2 separate regions of the Homo sapiens genome follow, and region 1 is linked to region 2. The links are contacts of gene promoters, found by promoter capture Hi-C in human tissues and cell types (Jung and others, 2019). All regions are on one chromosome and are shown on one strand. The core of a region is centred on a gene start or on the middle of the fragment in contact, and the rest is flanking DNA. Distances in the headings are between cores, read along the strand shown. Region 1 overlaps SLMAP (sarcolemma associated protein). Region 2 holds the start of DNAH12 (dynein axonemal heavy chain 12).

What was found. Contacts are between HindIII fragments. The study calls those that stand out against the background at their distance.
Region 1: a contact is called between a fragment that was not itself captured here and the fragment with the promoter of DNAH12 in region 2, in 1 of the 25 tissues and cell types used here (dorsolateral prefrontal cortex).

The regions. Positions count from the first base shown.
Region 1 is chr3:57,766,686-57,771,771 of GRCh38, forward strand. The region is part of intron 2 of SLMAP (sarcolemma associated protein); the gene reads left to right. Among named protein-coding and RNA genes, the nearest start is that of SLMAP, 13 kb to the left of the region's middle. The HindIII fragment of the contact is 4,536 bases long and covers 1-3,997 here.
Region 2 is chr3:57,543,007-57,547,777 of GRCh38, forward strand. It overlaps DNAH12 (dynein axonemal heavy chain 12), which reads right to left and starts at 1,338. Exons shown (of 74, transcript NM_001366028.2): 1 at 1,191-1,338. RefSeq lists an enhancer at 926-1,476. The HindIII fragment of the contact is 14,626 bases long and covers 1-4,771 here.

The sequences.
Region 1 (5,086 bases), core at 480-2,979, 220 kb after region 2:
TTTCTTCACCCCAAACTTTGTGTACTAGCTGTATGACAGTGTTCACTGTTTCTAGAACAAGTGCCTTTTTTTGCTGTTTTGTCTTCTAGAATGACCTCTTCTTGTCATCCCTTAAGGCTCAGTTCCAATGTGAAACCTTCCCTGACTCCCTTTAACTGAAGAATTAATTGCTTCTTCCTCTATACTTCCATTTAACTTTGTGTATAATTTCTTTATTTCTTTTTTTTAAATTTATTTTTATTTTTATTTTTGAGACAGGGTCCCTCTCTGTCACCCAGGCTAGAGTGTAGTGGTGTGATCTTGGCTTACTGCAGCCTCCACCTCATGGGTTCAAGCAGTTCTCCTGCCTCAGCCTCTCAAGTAGCTGGGATGACAGGCACCCCCCAGCACACCTGGCTAATTTTTGTATTTTTAGTAGAGATGGGATTTCACCATGTTGCCCAGGCTGATCTCGAACTCCTGGCCTCAAGCAATCCACCTGCCTCAGCCTCCCAAAGTGCTGGGATTACAGGTGTGAGCCACTGCACCCGGCCTGTATATAATTTCATTATGGGACATAAACAACAAAATAACTATGATGCAAATGTACTACTGTCCCATCAGATGTGAACTCTTGAGAGCAAGAGAATAGGCACTACATTCATGTTTGAATGAGGGAAATGTGAACAATGGAGCGGTTTGTATTTCTGCAAACCTGTGCAGTGTTAAAGGGCAGAAAGTCATTCAAGTTAGTTCTCAATTTGAGATCATGGACTCAATTATCAATATGTAGTCTTTGTATAAGTCATTATTTATTGAGAGCTTGCAGTTTGCAAAACATTTTGCTAAGTGTTTTTGGATCGTAGATCCAAATCTTGTGATTGGTGATATGAAATTATATATATGAACTATTACAATTTCACACAAAATAATTTTAAAAGGTTTTAGAATAATCAGAGTGCTTTCTTGTTTCATTTGGTCTATATAACACTCTTAGAAGGTAAGTAAAACAGCTGCAGTCTGGCTCGCTTTTGTCCAAAAAGAGTTTGATGTTTAGAGGTTATTTGTACAAGATCATCTAGTGGTAACTATGGGAGTTTTTTTCCCCCCAAAATGAAAGCCAACTATTAGACATTTATTCTGAACTGTCTTCTTAGGGACTGAGCAATTATTATGAAAATCTGTCTTTTGCTCTCTTGAAAGGTAATCTAAGCTATTGCTTTTTGATGTATAACCGAAACTTGTCATATTACGGACTTTCAAAGACTGAAATAACTCAAGTTAATTATTTCTCTGAGTCAGCTAACATTTTTAAAAACTTACCTCTACTACTCCTAGAAATACAATATTTTTTCTTGGGCTTGCATTCAGGCAAACTGATTTGGCTTTGGGTATATATGAAAATGAATGAAACAGCCTTGGAAAAACTTGTTTGGCCATGTACATTTTTCATGCTTTATAAGAGAGTAGCTGACAAATGTAAAGAAAAGAAGGAAAGCTTATATAGGCACTTGAAAATATGGACGTGTTTGGTGGTTAGTACTGTATCTTTTGTCAAGTATACAATTTGGGTTGGATTTTAAATTTAAGCACATAGAAACTGTGTGTTAAGATTTTCTCAATATTTTCAGGCTTACAGTTTTATTTATATATAAGTACTGACTTATTCTAGCTGAGCCAAGCAGAAAGGATTTTCCAATATAGACTTTCAAGCTTTTCTTATTTTTTACTTATACAAATAACAGGAATACATTCTCATAAAAAGTCAAGCAGGCCAGGTGTGGTGGCTCACACCTGTAATCCTAGCACTTTGGGAGGCTGAGGCAGGAAGATTGCTTGAGGCCAGGATTTCAAGTTCAGCCTGGGCAACTGTTTATATGAAATGTGTAGAATAGGTAAATTCATAGAAACAAAGATTGGTGGTTTCTAGGGGCTGAGGGTAATTAGGAATGTGATGGTTAATTTTATGTCAGTGTGGCTAGGCTGTGGTATCAGTTTTTCACTTGACCAACTTTTGGTCAAACACCAACCTGATATTCCTGTGAAAGTATTTCTTAGATGTGACTAACATTTATACCATTATACTTTGAGTAAAGCATATTACCCTCCATAATGTGGGTGGGCCTCTCTAATCAGTCGAAGGCCTTAAAAAAAAAGACTGAGGTCCCCCTGAAGTTAGGAATTTTGCCCTCACAAAGCTGTTGGACTCAAGACTACACAACAGCTCTTCCCTGAATCCCTAGTCTAATGATATGCCCCGCCAATTTCATACTTGCCAGCACCCCCCACCCCAGTTGCGTGAGCCAATTCCATTAGATAAATCTCTCTATATAAATGTACATGCAATCGGTTCTGTTTTTCTAGAGCCTTGACTAACATAGGATATGACTGCCAAATTGGTACGAGTTTCTTTTTGGGATGATGAAAATGTAAAATTGATTGTGGCGATGGTTGCACAACTCTGAATTGTATACTTAAATTGGCAATTGTATGGTGTTTGAATTATATCTCCAAAAAGGATTTTCATTTTATTTTATTTTTTTTTTGAGATGGAGTCTTGCTCTGTTGCCCAGGCTGGAGTGCAGTGGCGCGATCTTGGCTCACTGCAAGCTCTGCCTCCTGGGTTCACGCCATTCTCCTGCCTCAGCCTCCTGAGTAGCTGGGACTACAGGGCGCCTGTCACCACGCCCAGCCAGTTTCTTGTATTTTTAGTAGAGATGGGGTTTCACCGTGTTAGCCAGGATGGTCTCGATCTCCTGACCTCGTGATCCGCCCGCCTTGGCCTCCCAAAGTGCTGGGATTACAGGCATGAGCCACCGCGCCCGGCTGGATTTTTTTTTTTAAGACACAAGGTCTCACTATGTTGCCCGGCTGGTCTCAAATTCCTGGGCTCAAGCAACCCTCCCACCTCAGGCTCCCAAAGTGTTAGGATTACAGGGTGAGCTACCGCACCTAGGCCCAAAAAGGAATGTTAGATGAAGTAATAGCTTAGTGAAAGCAGCTTGGGATATAGGAAGTAGAAGACAGTGAGTGAGTATTCAAGGTAGGTAGGATTAACAGAGCAACTTTTGAAGTACCATATAGTTTGATTTTTCTCTCTGCTTCCTTATTGTGAATGTCTTACTCTTGGTTGGACCTTTGTTTTAACAAATGTAGTATATAGATAGTACGTTTCCAATCTTGAAATATTTGTTTCTAGGCACAATTTTGGTGTTATTGAGAAGTTGTAGTGCCAGAGTATTAATGTGAGAATTGAGAGAAATGGTTAAGATATAGTTTAAAAGTCTCGATCTGCACCTCAATCAGTTCAGCATAAGATTGATTTTACTTACCAAGGAATCTTTGATGTATGCAGGCACATACATAGAAGCAGTAAAGTATTGTTAGGATGAACTGTACTAGTTTGATTAGAAGACAGTATTCATTTAAATTGTAGCTGAACCCAAACTGGGGCCATTATGCATTCTTAGTCTTTAGTATCTGAGTGTCTCATTCTTGCAGTGCGGTGTGGTGTCCAGCACATAATCCTGGAAAAATATAATTACGATACAAATAAGTCAAACAATAGTAGCATCTGTGAATCATTGTTTCCAGGGAGCTAAGAGAGTGATGTATTCCTTCCCCCAGGATTGGGGGCAGAAAATGTGGGAGCAAAGAAGAGAGCTTCACAGAGAAAGTTGTTTTTAAGCCACTGTTTGAAGAGTGAGTAGGGCTTTGCTAGCTGGATAAAAAAGAGCAATGCATTCTAGCTGGAAGCATATGTTTAAGGCAGAAAAGCCTGAAAGAGAGTGATGTATTCTGGGAATGCAAACCCAGAAGTTGACAAAATTGGGGGGAAGAAAATAGAGCTGCTGTCAGTTCTTTGGGGGTAGTCGAGAACTGAAGGCAGATGCCTTAAGGGAGGCAGTGTAGTCAAAGATTTTGGAGTTGGACTACTGGTATTGGAATCCTGGCTCCATTGCTTGCCAGATATGTGACCTTGGGGAGTCTCTGTGTTTTCAGTTTTCCTCATATGTAAAAGGAGGCTAATAATCGTATTTACTTCATGGGACTTTTGTAAACATTTGATGAGAATTGTAAAGCACTTAGCAGAATACCTGGCACAGGATAGGCAGTCAATAGCTTGTGGCTGTTAGAATTTTTCTTTCTTTTTTGGTTGGTGTGTTTGTATAGTAATACCAGTTGAATATCCCTTATCAAAAATGCCTGAGATCAGAAGTTTTTTGGATTCCAGATTTTTTAGGATTTTGGAATATTTGCATTATACTTACACTTACCAGTTGAACATTCCTAATTCAAAAATCTGTAATCAATTTGCTCCAAAATTCAGAACTTTTTGAGTACTGACATAGTACTCAAAGGAAATGCTCATTGGAACCTTTCAGATTTCAGATTTCAAATTTTCAGATTTGGGTTGCTCAACCTGTATTACTTACGCAAACTCCTCTCCTGTATGCTGCTCCTGCTCCTCCCTCTGCTCTCCCCTCCCCTCCCCTCCCCTCCCCTCCCCTCCCCTCTCCTCTCCTCCCTTCTCTTTCTCCTCCTCCTCCTCCTTTGAGAGAGAGAGAGAGAGAGAGAGGGAGAGAGACTTACTCTGTCACCCAAGCTGGAGTGCAATGGTGGATCACAGCTCACTACGGCCTCAACCCAACCCTGCCTAGGCTCAAGCAATCCCCCGTCCTCAGCCTCCCGAGTATATGGGACCACAGGTGTATGCCACCATGCCTAGCTAACTTTAAAATTTTTTATAGAGATGGAATCTCGCCATGTTGCCCAGGCTGGTCTCAAACTCCTGAGCTCAAGTAATCCCCCTGCCTTGCCTTCCCAAAGTGTTGGGATTACAGGCATGAGCCACTGCACCTGGCCTTTTTCTTCTTTTTTTTTAGACAGGGTCTTGTTCTGTTGCCCAGGCTGGAATACGGTGCAGTCACAGCTAATTGTAACCTTGAACTTTGGGCTCAAATGATCCCCCCACCTTGGCCTCCCAGACTGCTGGGATTATAGGCATGACCCACTGTACTTGGCCTTATTTTTTGTAAATGTGCTTTTTCATTGTTGAAAAAATTTCTTCTTTGAATATATCTTTTGAGTTCCCTAAACTAAGTAA
Region 2 (4,771 bases), core at 88-2,587:
TGGATCTTCCTCCCAAGTATGGTATTAGTCTAAAGAATGACAGTTGAGGTAAGTTGGCAGGGATTCCTGTTAGAACTCTAAAACTCACTTATGAAGCAATGAGCCAGTCAGTTCCCCTTCAGGGCTTGTTTCCTAATGGATGAAACTAAGGAATTGAATTAGATGCTCTGTAAATATCCCTACAGCTGTAGCATTCTGGGTGCAAAATTTTCCCGAGATGCAAACCACTACCACCACCACCACAACAAATCCAGTTGTTGAGGGATGATCCCCTTCCCAGTAAAAGCTGATATTTAACATCATTAATGGTTTTTTTTTTTTTTTTTTTTTTTTTGAGACAGATTCTTGCTCTGTCGCCCAGGCTGGAGTGCAATGGCGCGATCTTGGCTCACTGCAACCTCCGCCTCCCAGGTTCAAGTGGTTCTCCTGCTTCAGCCTCCCGAGTAGCTAGGACTACAGGTGCGCAACCACGCCCAGCTACTTTTTTGTGTTTTTAGTAGAGACAGGGTTTCACCATGTTGGCCAGGCTGGTCTCGAACTCCTGACCTCAGATGATTTCCCGCCTCGGTCCCCCAAAGTCCTGAGATTACAGGCGTGAGCCACCGCCCCCAGCCAATCATTAATATTTTTAAACATCAGTATGATATCTTAGTCTTGCTGCCTTCCAAGAAAGTGATGCTATGATCAAGCAAAAAATAGGCATACTTGATGCATGGCAAATATAAAATGTCATGTAAATGCTCAAAAATTTTACTGTGGGCCAGGCGCGGTGGCTCACGCCTGTAATCCCAGCACTTTGGGAGGCCGAGGTGGGCGGATCACCTCAGGTCGGGAGTTCGAGCCCAGCCTGGCCAACATGGTGAAACCCCATCTCTACTAAAAATACAAAAATTAGCCGGGCGTGGTGGCAGGCGCCTGTAATCCCAGCTACTCAGGAGGCTGAGGCACAAGAATCGCTTGAACCTGGGAGGCAGAGGTTGCAGTGAGCTGAGATCCCGCTACCGCACTTCAGCCTGGGCGATAAAGCGAGACTCCGTCTCAAAAAAAAATTGTACTGTGATAACAACTATATTTGCCATGAATGCCTACAGGATTTGGAGATTCCTGCCTTGAAAGAGTGTTTAAGTTGGCACCCAAATCGCGATACCTGCCCTGGGAGAGAAAGGAAGAGAACAGCAGAGAACAAGTACCTGATTGTTTCTCACTACTTCCCCGCTGCGCAGACGCCAGAGAGAGAGAGAGACAGTCAGAGCCTCTCCTCAGGTGAAAGGCAGGGGGATAACGAGGGAGAAACCTCCGGAACGCCACCGGCTCTCAAACGAGTAGCTGGAGAAGGGCGGTCGCTGACCGGTTGGAAACAACGTCGTCGCCATGGAAACTGTGGCGGCCCCAGCTGGAGGGGCTGGGTGAAGGTTGCCTGGAGAGGCAGTTGCCAAGCTGCAAGGGGTTAGGATTACCTGTCACAACAATAATTCGTTACTCAAGTAAATGGGGTGTGAGGTTTTGTTTGTTTGTTTTAACCTAACTGCCTTTCCTGGGAAGGGGACCAGGAAATTAGAATCTTCAAACTGTGGAAAACTGCAAGACTGGAAATTTAGATCTGTTGGAAAACAGATTTATGGAAACACTCTCAGCAAGAGAATCAAGTCTTCAAATGTCCCCTAGTGACACCCTGTAAATATTGTAACTAATCAGCAATATAATTTATCTTGCTTCTAGATTTGCTATTTGTTGACACAGCACTTCCAGGAATTCTTTGGCAAAATCAAACAGGTTAAGGTGTGTGAATTTAGTGGTATGCTGGGAGAAAGATGTGAAATTTTGCTGTTTGAAGCTGCACAATGCATACTACATCTAAATGATAATAGCCTACGAGAATACTATGTGCCAAAATTAAATTAGGGAAGTGAATACTGCCGGTGTGTTAACAGCATATTCATTCAACAAATATTTGAGCACCTTCTATGTGCCAGTTGCTACGTAATTTTTTTTTTTTTTTTTAATGAGAGTACAGCCTACACTATTGTGTCTGGCACAGAGTAGGTGCTCTAAAATGTCATTTAAGCGAGTGAATGAACAAGTAAAACTTCCTGGTAGTTTGTAAAAGCAAATTATCTTTCTGTAGAAAATAAAATACTTGTATAAATAATGTGACTTTTTTTTTTTTTTTTGAGACAGAGTTTTGATCTTGTTGCCCAGGCTGGAGTGCTCACCACAACCTCCACCTCCCAGGTTCAAGTGATTGTCTTGCCTCAGCCTTCCAAGTAGTTGGGATTACAGGCATGCATCACCAAACCCGACTAATTTTTTTTCTTTTCTTTTTTTTTTTTTTAGTAGAGACGGGGTTTCTCCATGTTGGTCAGGCTGGTCTTGAACTCCTGACCTCAGGTCATCCGCCCACCTCGGCCTCCCAAAATGCTGGGATTACAGGCGTGAACCACTGCACCATGCCACCTTTTCTCTTTTAAACTCAGTCCTATGACAGATTAGACAGTTTTTTTAATGTCAATTTGTTAGGGTTTATTTTTTAGAGACAGGGCTCTCGCTCTGTCACCCAGGCTGGAGTGCAGCGGCACCATCATAGTGAAAGGAGTCAGCTAGATTTTGCATTAGGTAGATAGCAAGGGAAGGGTCCCCAGAGAACCCCCAGCCCATGGGTCAGTGCCTCATCCCCACATAACATAAAAAGCAGCCTGGGAAAAAATTCAAGCGGCAGGCACCAATAAGGGAACTAGCACAGGGTGTTGTGCCTGGAGACATGCCCACGGCTCCACAGATAGAAAAATCTCCAGCCCATTTGGACAAAAACTTGCACAGACCTCCTCCTCACTCACATAAAGGAACAAAGAAATGCCTTTGTCCTTTGTATAGTCAATGGGCTCCCAGGGAAAAAAAAGTTTATTTTCCTTTTGTGGGTATGGGCACAGTGGGCTCCAGTAGGTTCCAGTGGGCACTCTACTTTCCTTTATTTGGATTGTAAGTCCGGCTTCTAGGAATCATCACTTCAGCTCCTGATTTGTCCTGGGCCAAGGTCCAGGGCCAAACTTTCTCTTCAGTTCCTGATAGGTCCCGAGCCAAGCTAAGCAGCATCTATGAATCATCATTTCAGCTCCTGATTAGTACCAGGCCAAGCCCCAGGGTAGCGGGGTCGGGGGACGAAGCACATTCCTTCCCCTTCCCAGTCCATAAAAACCCTGGACCCCAGCCTCATAGGGGGCACCCCATTCAGGTCCCCCTCTCTGCTGGCAGAGAGCTTTCTTCTTTCTCTTATTAAACGTTCGTTCTAAACTAACCTTTGGGTCTGCGCTCCTTAATCATCTTGGAGGTGGGACAAATAACTCCAGGTGTTATCTCAGACAATGAGAAACTGTTACATCTTGGTGCATTGCTGAGACTACAGCAATAGCTCACTGCATCCTCAAACTCCTGGGCTCAAGGGATCCTCCCACCTTAGCCTCCTGAGTAGCTGGGACTACAGGCACACACCACGACATCGGCTAATTTTTAAAAATATTTTGTTGGGACAGTGTCTTACTATGTTGCACAGGCTTGCCTCAAACTAGTGGACTCAAGCAATCCTCCTGCTTCAGCTTCCTAAAAGTGTTGGGATTATAGGCATGAGCCACCATATCTAGCCTGAATGTCAATTTGGTTAGGCTAAATTAGAAGAACTAAAGAGAAGGCAGCAATCTTGTGTATGATATACCCACCTTCTCCCAGTCATTAATCAAACACTAATCTAGGGCTGCTGTGAGGAGATTACAGCTCAATTCAAGTCCCTGGTCAATTGACATTGATCTAAGAAGATTATCCTGGGTGAGCCTGACTCAATCAGTAGAAATCCTTTTAAAAAGATTTAGGCCTGGCAAAGTGGATCAACCCTGTAATCCCAGCACCTTAGGAGGCCGAGCCAGACAGACTTCTTGAGGGAGTTTGAGACCAGCCTGGGCAACATGGTGTAACTCTGTCTCTATTTTAAAAAATTAAAAATTAAAAAAATAATAATAAAGAGATGGGCATGCCCTGAGTCAAACTCCAAACAGCAGCTGGGTCTATAACTGCTCTCCATTTTCTGGTTCTTCCCTTCCTGACAGATAGTCTGCCCTACAGACCATGGACTTGGTTAACCAGCCCCCTCCATTGCATAAGCCAATTCTTTGTTTAAAAAAATATATATATATGTATAGACATACACACACACATATATAGATATAGATATAGATATAGATATAGATGATATGTATTATATCTTAGTGGTTCTGCTTCCCACTTTGAACCCTGACTGATACAATGTACGTCCTTTTTTTTTTTACTTTAAAAAAAAATTTTATTATAGAGACAAAGTCTCACAATGTTGGCCAGGATGGTCTTGAACTCCTGGCCTCAAGCAATCCTCCTGCCTTGGCCTCTAGATGTGCTAGGATTACAGGTGTGAGCCACCACGCCTGGCCGATGTACATCCTTTTTAATAGCCAATGTTTCCAAAAGTGTGTTCTTTTACAAGAACAGATTCCTCTTGAGCTTATACAAATAAATAATATTGCCATAAAACAAGAATACTCATGAATAGTTTCCTAATTCTGGAGATATCAGGTAGAGAGAAAGATAAATATTTCAATTTTACTCACAAAATATACCAAAAAGTTACCAAATTGCTATAAAACTACAGATAATGCAGAGAAAAAAAGTTTTCTTAACTCTGAAAGAAAATAATAATAAAAAGCAACGTTTCAAGCAAAAAAGTCATTAAAATCATTTCAGTCCTCATCAG